Regions from separate parts of the Homo sapiens genome. Here all the other regions are linked to region 3. The links are contacts of gene promoters, found by promoter capture Hi-C in blood cells and fetal thymus (Javierre and others, 2016). All regions are on one chromosome and are shown on one strand. The core of a region is centred on a gene start or on the middle of the fragment in contact, and the rest is flanking DNA. Distances in the headings are between cores, read along the strand shown.

Region 1 (3,911 bases), core at 588-3,087, 98 kb before region 3:
AGCACTGTGAAAATCCCTGTCCTGTTCCATTCTAATTACCGGTGCATGCAGCCCCCAGTCACGTACCCTCTGCTTGCTCAATCAATCACGACCCTCTCATGCAGACCCGCTTAGAATTGTGAGCTCTTAAAAGGGACAGGAATTGCTGACTCAGAGAGCTCGGTTGTTGGAGACGTGAGTCTTGCTGAAGCTCCTGGCTGAATAAAGCCCTTTCTTCTTTAACTCAGTGTCTGAGGGGTTGTGTCTGCGGCTTGTCCTGCTACAAAACCTGTTTCATCAGCAAGGTCTTTATGACCTGTATCTTGTGCCGACCTTCTATTTCATCCTGTGACTTAGAATGCCTTAACCATCTGAGAATGCACCCAGTAGGTCTCAGCCTCATTTTACCCAGTTCCTATTCAAGATGGAGTTGCTCTGGTTCACCTGCCTCTGACAGAGGCATGGTATTCCATTTCTTCAGGGCTAGTCTCTGTCTCAGGCAAGTTTTTTGCTCCTGGGTCTTGGGGATGGAATTTCTCAGCATATCTGTCCTTCCTCGTGGCAGCCAAACTTTTCCTTTTGTCTTTGGGTTGGTGGGGGTTTTGGCAGGACAGAATTTCTCATCCCTACTCCCATGGTGGCTGACCTCTCTGTATCTGTGCAGGCTTCTGAGTGCAAGCAGCTGTCCTCCCCTCCACCAGGGCACTCAGCTTTGCCTCTAGTTCTTCTTCAGCAGCAGCTAGCTTGGAAAGGAGAGCAGGAGGATGTGTAACCACCTGAGAGGTTCTTCTTGCCTGCTGCGTAAAGAAACACCATGGCATTGTAGTAGAGAAAGAGTTTAATAGACACAAGGCTCGCCATGCCACATGGGAGATGGAGTTAGCATTCAAATCATCTTGTCCAAAGCTTGTATGTTAGGGGTGTCATGGGAAAACGACAGCTGGTGGTGTGGGGTAAAAGAATTTGTGAAGACAGTTGTAAGTAAAGGAAGCCAAATTTATTAGACAAAGTAGGAAAATACACTGCCAGAGAGATAACGGGCTACCAGCAGAAGAGAAACTGACTGCAAAAAACAAAGACTCGCTGGAGATTTTATAGGGTAGTGTTTATGCTCTCTGTTGAAGAGGGCTTTATGTAGTACTGATAACATCAAAGTTGCAGTGAGCTAACTTACAGGTGTCTGGTGATAGCTGGGTGCAGGAAAGGTTGTAAGTTACTTGTGCAGGAGGGCTGTGTGTCCTGGATCATGAAGAAAGACAGACTTGTTGCTTATCTGCTTTCTCTTTTTGCTTTCTCTTGGTTCCACCAGCCTGGTTCCCTTTCCCTAATTAGGACTCCACAAAGGGATGAGGGTGGCCAGGTAATAGGTGCTTGCTGCTGATTGGTTGGGGTGGAGATGAAATTCTGCCTCCTGCAGGCAGAATTGCTTCTGGGCAGGGCCACAGGGGTGGGTTTGGTGGGGGATTCAGGTGGGTTCAGGTGGAGCCATGGATGTCTGACATGCAAAAATCCTGAAAAGACATCTCAAAAGGCCAATCTTAGGACTCAAGCTCCTCTCCTCCAAGCCTGATGGTCTCCCATTGGCTTTACAAAAGGCTTTGGGGAGGAGAGGAGTTTCAGGGCAAGGCCTGTTATCATTTAAATGATAACCTAAAATGTCTTCCAAAGTTAGCTTGGCCCAATAGCCCCCAAATAATCAAGGGAAAGGCAAGGTGGTGCAGGTGGAGGGTGTTAACTCTGCTTACTATTATAATTTTTCTCAGTGATAAAATTTTCACAAAGGCAGTTTTAGGTAGACTACTGATCACTGTCAACTGATGTGTTGACAAAAAGAGTTAAACTCTAAAATATTTAAAGAGATTTATGCTGAGCCAAATATGAGTGACCAAGGCCCATGACATAGCCCCTAAAAGTCCTAAGAACAGGTGCCCAAGGTGGTTGGTTTACAGCTTTTATACATTTTATTTTATTTTATTTTAGGCAGAGTCTCACTCTGTTGCCCAGGCTGGGGTGCAGTGGCACTCACTGCAACCTCTGCCTCTCAGGCTCAAGCAATTTTTGTGCCTCAGCCACCCAAGTAGCTGGGATTACAGGTGTGCATTACCATGTCTGGCTAATTTTTGTATTTTTATTGGAGATGAAATTTCACTATGTTGGCTAGGCTGGTCTCGAACTCCTGGCTTCAACTGATCCTCCTGCCTTGGCCTCCCAAAGCGCTGGGATTACAGGCATGAGCCAGCACCCCTGGCCAATTTTTTTTTTTGAGAGGGAGTCTTTCTCTGTTGCCCAGGCTGGAGTGCAGTGGCACAATCTCAGCTCACTGTAACCTCTGCCTCCTGGGCTCAAGTGATCTCCTGCCTCAGCCTCCTGAGTAGCTGGGATTACAGGTGCCCACCACTATACCCGTTAATTTTTGTATTCTTAGTAGAGATGAGGTTGCACCATGTTGGCCAGGCTGGTTTCAAACTCCTGACTGTCAGGCCTCTGAGCCAAAGCTAAGCCATCATATCCCCTGTGACCTGCACGTATACATCCAGATGGCCTGAAGTAACTGAAGAATGACAAAAGAAGTGAAAATGGCCTTTTCCTGCCTTAACTGATGACATTACCTTCTGAAATTCCTTTTCCTGGCTCATCCTGGCTCAAAAGCTCCCCCACTGAGCACCTTGTGATCCCCACCCCTGCCCACCAGAGAACCCCCCTTTGACTGTAATTTTCCTTTACCTACCCAAATCTTAAAAAATGGCCCCACCCCATCTCCCTTCGTTGACTCTCTTTTCGGACTCAGCCTGCCTGTACCCAGGTGGTTAAAAAGCTTTATTGCTCACACAAAGCCTGTTTGGTGGTCTCTTCACACGGACGTGAGTGAAATTTGGTACCGTGACTCAGATCGGGGGACCTCCCTTGGGAGATCAATCCCCTGTCCTCCTGCTCTTTGCTCCATGAGAAAGATCCACCTACGACCTTGGGTCCTCAGATTGACCACCCAAGGAACATCTCACCAATTTTAAATCGGGTAAGTGGCCTTTTTTCACTCCCTTCTCCAACCTCTCTTAGTATCCCTCAACCTCTTTCTCCTTTCAATCTTGGTGCCACACTTCAGTCTCTCCCTTCTCTTAATTTCAGTTCCTTTCCTTTTCCGGTAGACACAAAGGAGATGCATTTTATCCATGAACCCAAAACTCCGGCACTGGTCACAGACTCAGGAAGAGAGTCTCCCTTGGTGTTTAATCACACGGGGATGCCTGCCTGATTATTCACCCACATTTCAGAGGTGTCTGACCATGTGGGGATGCCTGCCTTGGTCCTTCACCCTTAGTGGAAAGTACCGCTTTTCTGGGGGGCAAGAACCCCCTGACCCCTTCTCTCTGTGTCTCTACCCCTTTTCTGCTTTTCTAGGGGGCAAGAATCCCCCAACCCCTTCTCTCCGTGTCTCCACCTCTTCTCCACTTTTCTGAGGGGCAAGAACCCCCTGAACCCTTCTCTCCATGTCTCTACCCCTTCTCCACTTTCCTAGGGGGCAAGCACCCCTGACGCCTTCTCTCTATGTCTCTACTCTCTCTTTTCTCTGGGCTTGCCTCCTTCACTATGGGCAGCCTTCCACCCTCCATTCCTCCTTCTTCTCCCTTAGCCTGTGTTCTCAAGAACTTAAAACCTCTTCAACTTACACCTGACCTAAACCTAAATGCCTTATCTTCTTCTACAATGCTGCTTGACCCCAATACAAACTCGACAGTGGTTCCAAATAGCCAGAAAACAGCACTTTTGATTTTTCCATCCTACAAGATCTAGATAATTCTTGTCATAAAATAGGCAAACGGTCTGAGGTGCCTGACATCCAGGCATTCTTTTACACATTGTTCCCTTCCTACTGTCTGTTCCCAATGTGACTTGTCCCAAATCCTCCTTCTTTCCCTCCTGCCTGTCCTCTC
Region 2 (3,912 bases), core at 742-3,241, 82 kb before region 3:
CCAAACCCGTCCCCCTCGACCCTCCTGGTCCATGGAACAATTGTCTTCCATGAAACCAGTCCTTGGTGCCAAAAAGTTTGGGGACTGCTGGTCTGGACAACCTGGGCTTCACAATTTTTAATTTGTTTGTAGGCTGTTACTGTAACAGGCCGAGAGGTGCTTGTAAACTTCAGAGGTTGTTTACCAGAGAGCCAAAGAAGGTGTTTAGAAATGTGTGTGACATGCTATAACCCAGCTCCGGCCATAGACCCTGTTCCGATGAAGACAATGTTCTATCTCTAATGATCCAATATGGCAGACAGCAGCCATATGTGGCATTGTACTCTTAAAATATGGATAATGCAACTGAAGAACTAATTTTCTTTTTCTCTTTCTTCTTTCTTTCTTTCTTTCTTTTTTTCTGTTCTTTCTCTCTTTCTTTCTCTCTCTCTTTCTCTCTTTCTCTCTTTTTTTCTTTCTTTCAAGACAGGGTCTCACTCTGTCACCCAGGCTAAAGTGCAGTGGCACGATCCGGGCTTACTGCAACCTCCACCTCCCGGGTTCAAGTGATTCTCCTGCCTCAGCCTCCCGAGCAGCTGGGATTACAGGCGCCTGCCACCACACCAGGCTAATTTTTGTATTTTTAGCAGAGACAGGGTTTCACCACAGTGGCCAGGCTGGTCTCGAACTCCTGACCTCCGCCCGCCTCGGCCTCCCAAAGTGCTGGGATTACAGGCGTGAGCCACCACGCCTGGCCAGCCAACTTCTATTAATATTTTAGAAAAAGGGGATGCAAGTGCAGGTTTGTTACAAAGGTATATGATGTGATGCTGAGTTTTGGGGTATGAATGAATATGTCACCAAGGTAGTGAGCATAGTATCCAGTAGATCATTTTTTCAGCCCTTGCCCTGCTCCTTCTCTTCTACCTCTAATAGTCCCTGTGTCTATTGTTTTTATTTTTATGTCCATGTGCACCCAATATTTAGCTCCCACTTATAAGTGAGAATAAGCGTTATTTGGTTTTTTGTTTCTGCGTTAGTTAGCTCAGACTAGTGGTTTCCAGCTGTATCCCCGTTGCTGCAATGGACATGATTTTGTTCTTTTTTATGGCTGTGTAGTAATCCATGGTGTATGTATACTGTATTTTTCACCATAGATGGGCATCTAGGTTGATTCCATGTCTTTTCTATTGTGAATACTGTTGTGCCATGGGTGCAGGTGTCCTTTTGGTAGAACAATTTATTTTTTGGGGGGATAGTTACCCAGTAGTGGGGTTGCTGGGTTGGTTGGTACTTCGACTCATAGTTCTTTGAGAAATATCCGAACTGCTCTTCGTAATGGCTGAACAATTTACATTCTGACCAACAGTGAATGAGTGTTCCCTTTTCTCCACAGCCTTGCTGCCATCTGTTTTTTTTTTTTTAAATATATGAGGAAAGTCTTGCTCTGCCACCCAGGCTGGAGTGGAGTGGCATGATCATGGCTCACTGCAGTCTCAGACTCCTGGGCTCAAGCAATCCTCCTGCCTCAGCTTCCTTAGTAGCTGTGACTATAGGCACACACTACACCAACACACACAGATAATTTAAAATTTTTTTTTTTTTGGTAGAGATGAGGTCTCACTATGTTGCCCAGGCCGGTCTCCAACTTCTGACCTCAAGGGATCCTCTAGCCTCTGCCTCCCAAAGTGCTGAGATTTCAGGCATGAGCCACTATACCTGGTCTTTTTTTTTGACTTTTTTTTTTTTTTTTTTTTTTGAGGTGGAGTCGCACTCTGTCGCCCAGGCTGGAGTGCAGTGGGGCCATCTCAGCTCACTGCAACCTCTGCTTCCCGGGTTCAAGTGATTCTCCTGACTCAGCCTTCCGGGTAGCCAGGATTACAGGTGTGTGCCACCATGCCCGACTAATTTTTTTGTGTTTTTAGTAGAGACGGGGGCCAGGCTGGTCTCAAACTCCTGACCTCGAGTGATCTGCCAGCGTCAGCCTCCCAAAGTGCTGGGATTATGGGTGTCAGCCACCATGCCCGACCTTTCTTGACTTTTTAACAAAAGCCCTGATAAATGTAGTTATACCCTGACTTTGCCTCACTATAGGCCCCTGTGCCCACAAACTTCCTATGGTCACTTTCCTAATATCTAAGTGTAAAATTGAGATTAATATCCTCACCACCCTGCAGAATTCCCACACTGACTTCCTAACCTATAGAATAAGAAATGTTAGGATGAGACCAGTGGATGGCTCTTGTCAAAATAGTAAACCAAAAGCAATTCTGCACTGCTGCATTTAATCACAGTGATTTTTTTTTTTTAAAACAGTGTCTCACTATGTTGCCCAGGCTGGTCTTGAACTCCTGGGCTCAAGTGATCCTCCCGTCTCCCAAAGTGTTAGGATTACAAGTGTGAGCCACTGTGCCCAGCTGAAAGATTCGTCTTGACATAACAAAGAATCGCCCTCCAAAACCTATTAATGATTGGCCGGGTATGGTGGCTCACACCTGTAATCCCAGCACTTTTGGAGGCCGAGGTGGGCAGATCACCAGGTCAGGAGATCGAGACCATCCTGGACAACATGGTGAAACCCCATCTCTACTAAAAATACCAAAATTAGCTGGGTGTGGTGGCATGTACCTGTAATCCCAGCTACTTGGGAGGCTGAGGAAGGAGAATCACTTGAATCTGGGAGGCAGAGGTTGCAGTGAGGTGAGATTGTGCCACTGCACTGCAGGCTGGTGACAGAGCGAGACTCCGTTTCAAAATAAACAAATAAACATATAAAAAAAACCTATTAATGACCTTAGCTTTATAGATGTACTTAGTGCCATGGTCTGAATGTTTGTGGCTCCCCGAAATCCATATATGTTGCCATCTTAACCCCCAAGGTGATGATATCAGGAGGTGGGGCCTTTAGGAGGTGTTTTAGTCTGTTCTCACATTGTTATAAAGAAATAACTGACACTTCGGGAGTCCGAGGTGGGTGAATCACTTGAGGCCAGAAGTTCGAGACCAGCCTGGCAAACATGGTGAAACCCCTCTCTACTAAAAAATGCAAAAATTAGCTGGCAGTGGTGACACACACCTGTAATCCCAGCTACTCGGGAGGCTGAGGCAGGAGAATCACTTGAACCCGGGAGGTGGAGGTTGCAGTGAGCCAAGATCGCACCACTGCACTCCAGCCTGGATGACAGAGCAAGACTCTGTCTCAAAAAAAAAAAAAAAAAAAAAGAAGGAACTGAGACTGGGTCATATATATGTTTAATTGGCTTAGGGTTCTGCAGGCCATGCAGGAAGCATGGCTGGGGAGGCCTCAGGGAGCTTTTACTCATGGCAGAAGGCAAAGCCTGAGCAGGTGTCTTCACACAGCCAGAGCAGGAGGAAGAGAGAGAGTGGGGAGGTGCCACACACTTTTAAACAACCAGAGCTCATGAAAACTCTACCACAAGAATAGCACCAAGGGGATGGTGTTAAACCATTTATGAAGGATTCACCTCCATGATCCAATCACCTCTCACCAGGCCCCACCTCCAGCACTGGGGATTACATTTTAACATGAGATTTGGGTGGGGACACAGACCCAAACCATATCAGGAGGTGATTAGGCCATGGTGGTGGAGCCCTCATGAATGGGATTAGTGCCCTTATGAAAGAGACCCAGAGGCCAGATAAGGTCATACCCATAATCCCAGCACTTCGGGAGGCTGAGGTAGGTGGATCACTTGAGGTCAGGAGTTCGAGACCAGCCTGGCCAACATGGTGAAATACATCTCTACTAAAAGTACAAAAACTAGCAGGGCATGGTGGCACATGACTGTAGTCCCAGCTACTTGGGAGGCTGAGGCAGGAGAATCATTGATCCTGGGAGGAAGAGGTCGCAGTGAGCCCCAAGCCTGCCTGGGTGACACAGTGAGACTCTGTCTCAGGAAAAAAAAAAAAAAA
Region 3 (3,796 bases), core at 1,153-3,652:
GCTGCCCCCACCCCCTGAGGCTGCTCCACTTCCTCTGGGGTTCCCTCTTCCCCCGGGACTCCCTTCTCCCCCTGGGACTCCCTTCTCCCCCTGGGACTCCCTCCCTTCCCCCTGGGACCCCTTCCCTTTCCCTTCCCCCTGGGACTCCCTTCCTCCCCCTGGGACCCCTTCCTTTCCCCCTGGGACTCCCTCCCTCCCCCTGGGACCCCTTCCCTTCCCCCTGGGACTCCCTCCCTCCCCCTGGGACCCCTTCCCTTCCCCCTGGGATTCCCTCCCTCCCCCTGGGACCCCTTCCCTTCCCCCTGGGACTCCCTCCCTCCCCCTGGGACCCCTTCCCTTCCCCCTGGGACTCCCTCCCTCCCCCTGGGACCCCTTCCCTTCCCCCTGGGACTCCCTCCCTCCCCCTGGGACCCCTCCCTTCCCCCCTGGATTCCCTCCCTCCCCCTGGGACCCCTTCCCCTTCCCCCTGGGACTCCCTCCCCTCCCCCTGGGACCCCTTCCCTTCCCCCTGGGACTCCCTCCCTCCCCCTGGGACCCCTTCCCTTCCCCCGGGACTCCCTCCCTTCCCCCGGGACTCCCTCCTCCCCCAGGACTCCCTCCTCTCCTTAGGACTCCCTCCCTCTCCCTGGGACACTCTCCCTACCCCTGGGACTCCCTTCTCCCCCTAGGACTCCCTCCCTTCTCCTGGGACTCCCTCCTCCCCCAGGACTCCCTCCTCACCCTGGGGCCACCCCTTCCCCTGGGACTCCCCCCTCCCCCGCCACTCCCTCCTCTCCCTAGGACTCCCTCCCTCCCCCTGGGACTCCCTCCCTCCCCCTGGGGTTCCCTCCTCCCCGCCAGGGCTCCCTCTTCCTCCTGGGGCTCCCCCTTTCCCGGGTCTGCCCCTTGGCCTCACCTCTTCTCTCCCGTCCCCCAGCTCCACATCCAGAGGCCGGAGATGGTAGCATCCACTGTGTGAGCCAACGGGGGCCTCCCACCCTCATCTAGCTCTGTTCAGGAGAGCTGCAAACACAGAGCCCACCACAAGCCTCCGGGGCGGGTCAAGAGGAGACCGAAGTCAGGCCCTGAAGCCGGTCCTGCTCTGAGCTGACAGACTTGGCCAGTCCCCTGCCTGTGCTCCTGCTGGGGAAGGCTGGGGGCTGTAAGCCTCTCCATCCGGGAGCTTCCAGACTCCCAGAAGCCTCGGCACCCCTGTCTCCTCCTGGGTGGCTCCCCACTCTGGAATTTCCCTACCAATAAAAGCAAATCTGAAAGCTCAGAATGAGAAGTGAGAGGTTTCCTTCTCCTCCTTCTGCAGTTGGGGTCAGGTTAGGGGTCAGAGCCCTCCTGGGATGGGATTTCTCCCAGGACTGGCTGCTGAATGGGGCATGGAACGAATGCTCTGGGCCCCTTCCTGTGTCTTTGCAGGGAGCCCCCTCCCCGGCTCCAGTCAGGACAGGTCTAGGCCTGCCTCTGCTGAGGTCCCTGTGGCAGAAAAGCCTAATGTCAGGTTCTGGGGACAGGAGAGGACCTCAGATTCAACCCCAGTTGGCCAGGGAGTGAGCACTTGGCTCTGCTGAGCTTGCACAAGGCAGGGTCACTCCAGATGGCCATGGGAGCTGTGCTTACCTCGGAACCCACAGACCAAACCCAAGAACTCCCTGCCCAGGCATGGCCATGTCTTCAGGGCATACTCATAGGACAATAAGAAGGGTTATTTTATTTATTTATTTTTGCCGAGACAGAGTCTTGCTCTGTTGCCCAGGCTGGAGTACGGAGGCACGATCTTGGCTCTCTGCAACCTCCGCCTCCCAGGTTCAAGCGATTCTCCTGCCTCAGCCTCCTGAGTAGCTGGGATTACAGGCGCCCGCCACCAAGTCTGGCTGATTTTTGTATTTTTAGTAGAGATGGTGTTTCATCATGTTGGCCAGGTTGGTCTCAAACTCCTCATCTCAAGTGATCTTCCCGCGTCAGCCTCCCAAAGTGCTGGGATTACAGGTGTGAGCCACCATACCCGGCCAATAAGAAGGGTTAGAAAAGAGACAAAGGGGGTGTCCCTGCTAGGGGTTAGGGTCAAATGCAGGTGGTACCCTCCTCCTTTCCCAGCTCAGGCCCAGTCCCTCTTGCCCATCTCCCACCACCCTCGGTCGGGGGATCTCATCAGTTCCCCCCTGGCTCCTACAGGCCCTCTGGGCTGCCCCTCTGTTGGGGTGATAAAGCTGATAACCCTCATGCCTATGGGCTGCCGGGCCAGGGAGAGGCACCCCCTCCCTCTGCCCTTTGGCCTGAAACAGGCCCTGCGCCCCAAGTCATGAGGGAAGCTTCCAGACTGACTCAGGCTCAGGCTGGCCCCTGATCCCCAGTGTCTCAGGGACCAAAGGTCTCTGGCACCCATTTATTTATCAGTTTCCTTCTCTGAGGCTCATTTCGCCAGCTCCTCTGGGGGTGACAGGCAAGTGAGACGTGCTCAGAGCTCCGATGCCAAGGCCAGGGACCATGGCGCTGTGTCTGCTGACCTTGGTCCTCTCGCTCTTGCCCCCACAAGCTGCTGCAGAACAGGGTGAGTGACCCCCACGCCCCGCTGCCCAAGAGGCCCCCATCCCAGGGGCCAGCCTGCTCTGTCTGCCCATCCCCGAGGGAGAGCTGCCTCCAGGACACCAATAGGGGTGTGCCCTCTGCCTGGAGCTCAGCCCTGTGCCTACCCCCTGGACTTCTCTTCTCTCCCCAGCGAGCTTTGGGGGAAGAGCCAGGGCATTGGAGCCTCTTCCAGTTGAGGTCTCTGAGCCTTAGTTTCCCCTTCCGAGCCTCAGTCTCCCCTCCGGAAAGTAAGAATAATAACACCTGCTTTTCAGGGCAGCTGCTAGGATTGAAAAGAGCTCCCCCCCCGAGGCATGATCCCTGGCACAAGACTGGTGTTCAACCCATATTAGAGTCTATCCTTACCCAGTGAATGTTCCCGCCAAGTCCCTGTCACCTCCCACACCAGCACACCCTGCTGTGTGCCCCAGGAATGTTTCCGGGACATAGCCACATGGGCACAAAATGGCGTTTCAGGAGCCCCAGATTCTAATCCTGCCATGAACCAGCTGTGCACCCTGGGGCCGCTCAGTTCATCTCCTGCCTCAGTCTCCCCAAAAGACAAGGCATTAGGACCTCTGAGGATCATTCCAGCTCAGCCGCTTTGGGCTTCATGGCCACAGGGACCCCGGGGGGCTCAGAGCAGGAGGGATGACAGTGGGTTCCAGCTGGACTCTCTGGGAGCTCCCTCTGCCCCTCACCTGCCCCCAGAGAAGGGCGCAGGGGAACCAAGACAGAAACTGGACCCATAGACCTCAGGGTCCCTGCCCCTCGAGATGTCACCCTGTGGCAATCTCACCCAGATCTGCCAGCCCATTCGTTGTAATGAAAACACTCCTTTCCTTGCACTTTCTGTGCCTTCCAGACCCTTGGTGATGTATCTCTAATAACAGCATCTTAGACATGATCTTTTGTTTTCCTCCCCAACCCTCACCTCTGTCTCCTCCTTTTTTTTTTTTTTTTTTTTTTGAGACGGAGCCTCGCTCTGTCACCCAGGCTGGAGTTCTGTAGCGTGATGTCAGCCCACTGCAACCTCTGCCTCCCGGGTTCAAGCGATTCTCCCGCCTCAGGCTCTTGAGTAGCTGGGATTACAGCCACATGCCACCATGCCCAGCTAGATTTTGTATATTTTTAGTAAGGACAGGGTTTCACCATGTTAACCGGGCTGGTCTCAAACTCCTGATCTCAGGTAGTCCTCCCACCTTGGGCTCCCAAAGTGCTGGGATTACAGGGGTGAGCC

Evidence for each region. Contacts are between HindIII fragments. The CHiCAGO score rates a contact against its expected background, and 5 or more counts as called.
Region 1: a fragment that was not itself captured here is called in contact with the fragment with the promoter of MUC17 in region 3 in 1 of 17 cell types (endothelial precursors); the score reaches 5.2 in endothelial precursors.
Region 2: a contact is called between a fragment that was not itself captured here and the fragment with the promoter of MUC17 in region 3, in 1 of 17 cell types (naive B cells). The highest score is 5.1, in naive B cells.

The regions. Positions count from the first base shown.
Region 1 is chr7:100,919,822-100,923,732 of GRCh38, forward strand. No RefSeq gene overlaps it. Among named protein-coding and RNA genes, the nearest start is that of ACHE, 26 kb to the left of the region's middle. The HindIII fragment of the contact is 1,909 bases long and covers 884-2,792 here.
Region 2 is chr7:100,935,944-100,939,855 of GRCh38, forward strand. No RefSeq gene overlaps it. Among named protein-coding and RNA genes, the nearest start is that of MUC3A, 12 kb to the right of the region's middle. The HindIII fragment of the contact is 5,286 bases long and covers 1-3,912 here.
Region 3 is chr7:101,017,679-101,021,474 of GRCh38, forward strand. It overlaps MUC17 (mucin 17, cell surface associated), which reads left to right and starts at 2,403. Exons shown (of 13, transcript NM_001040105.2): 1 at 2,403-2,539. The coding sequence starts at 2,458. MUC12 (mucin 12, cell surface associated) reads left to right here. Exons shown (of 12, transcript NM_001164462.2): 12 at 917-1,258. The coding sequence ends at 958. RefSeq lists a silencer at 810-1,104 and an enhancer at 1,154-1,303. The HindIII fragment of the contact is 6,139 bases long and covers 2,299-3,796 here.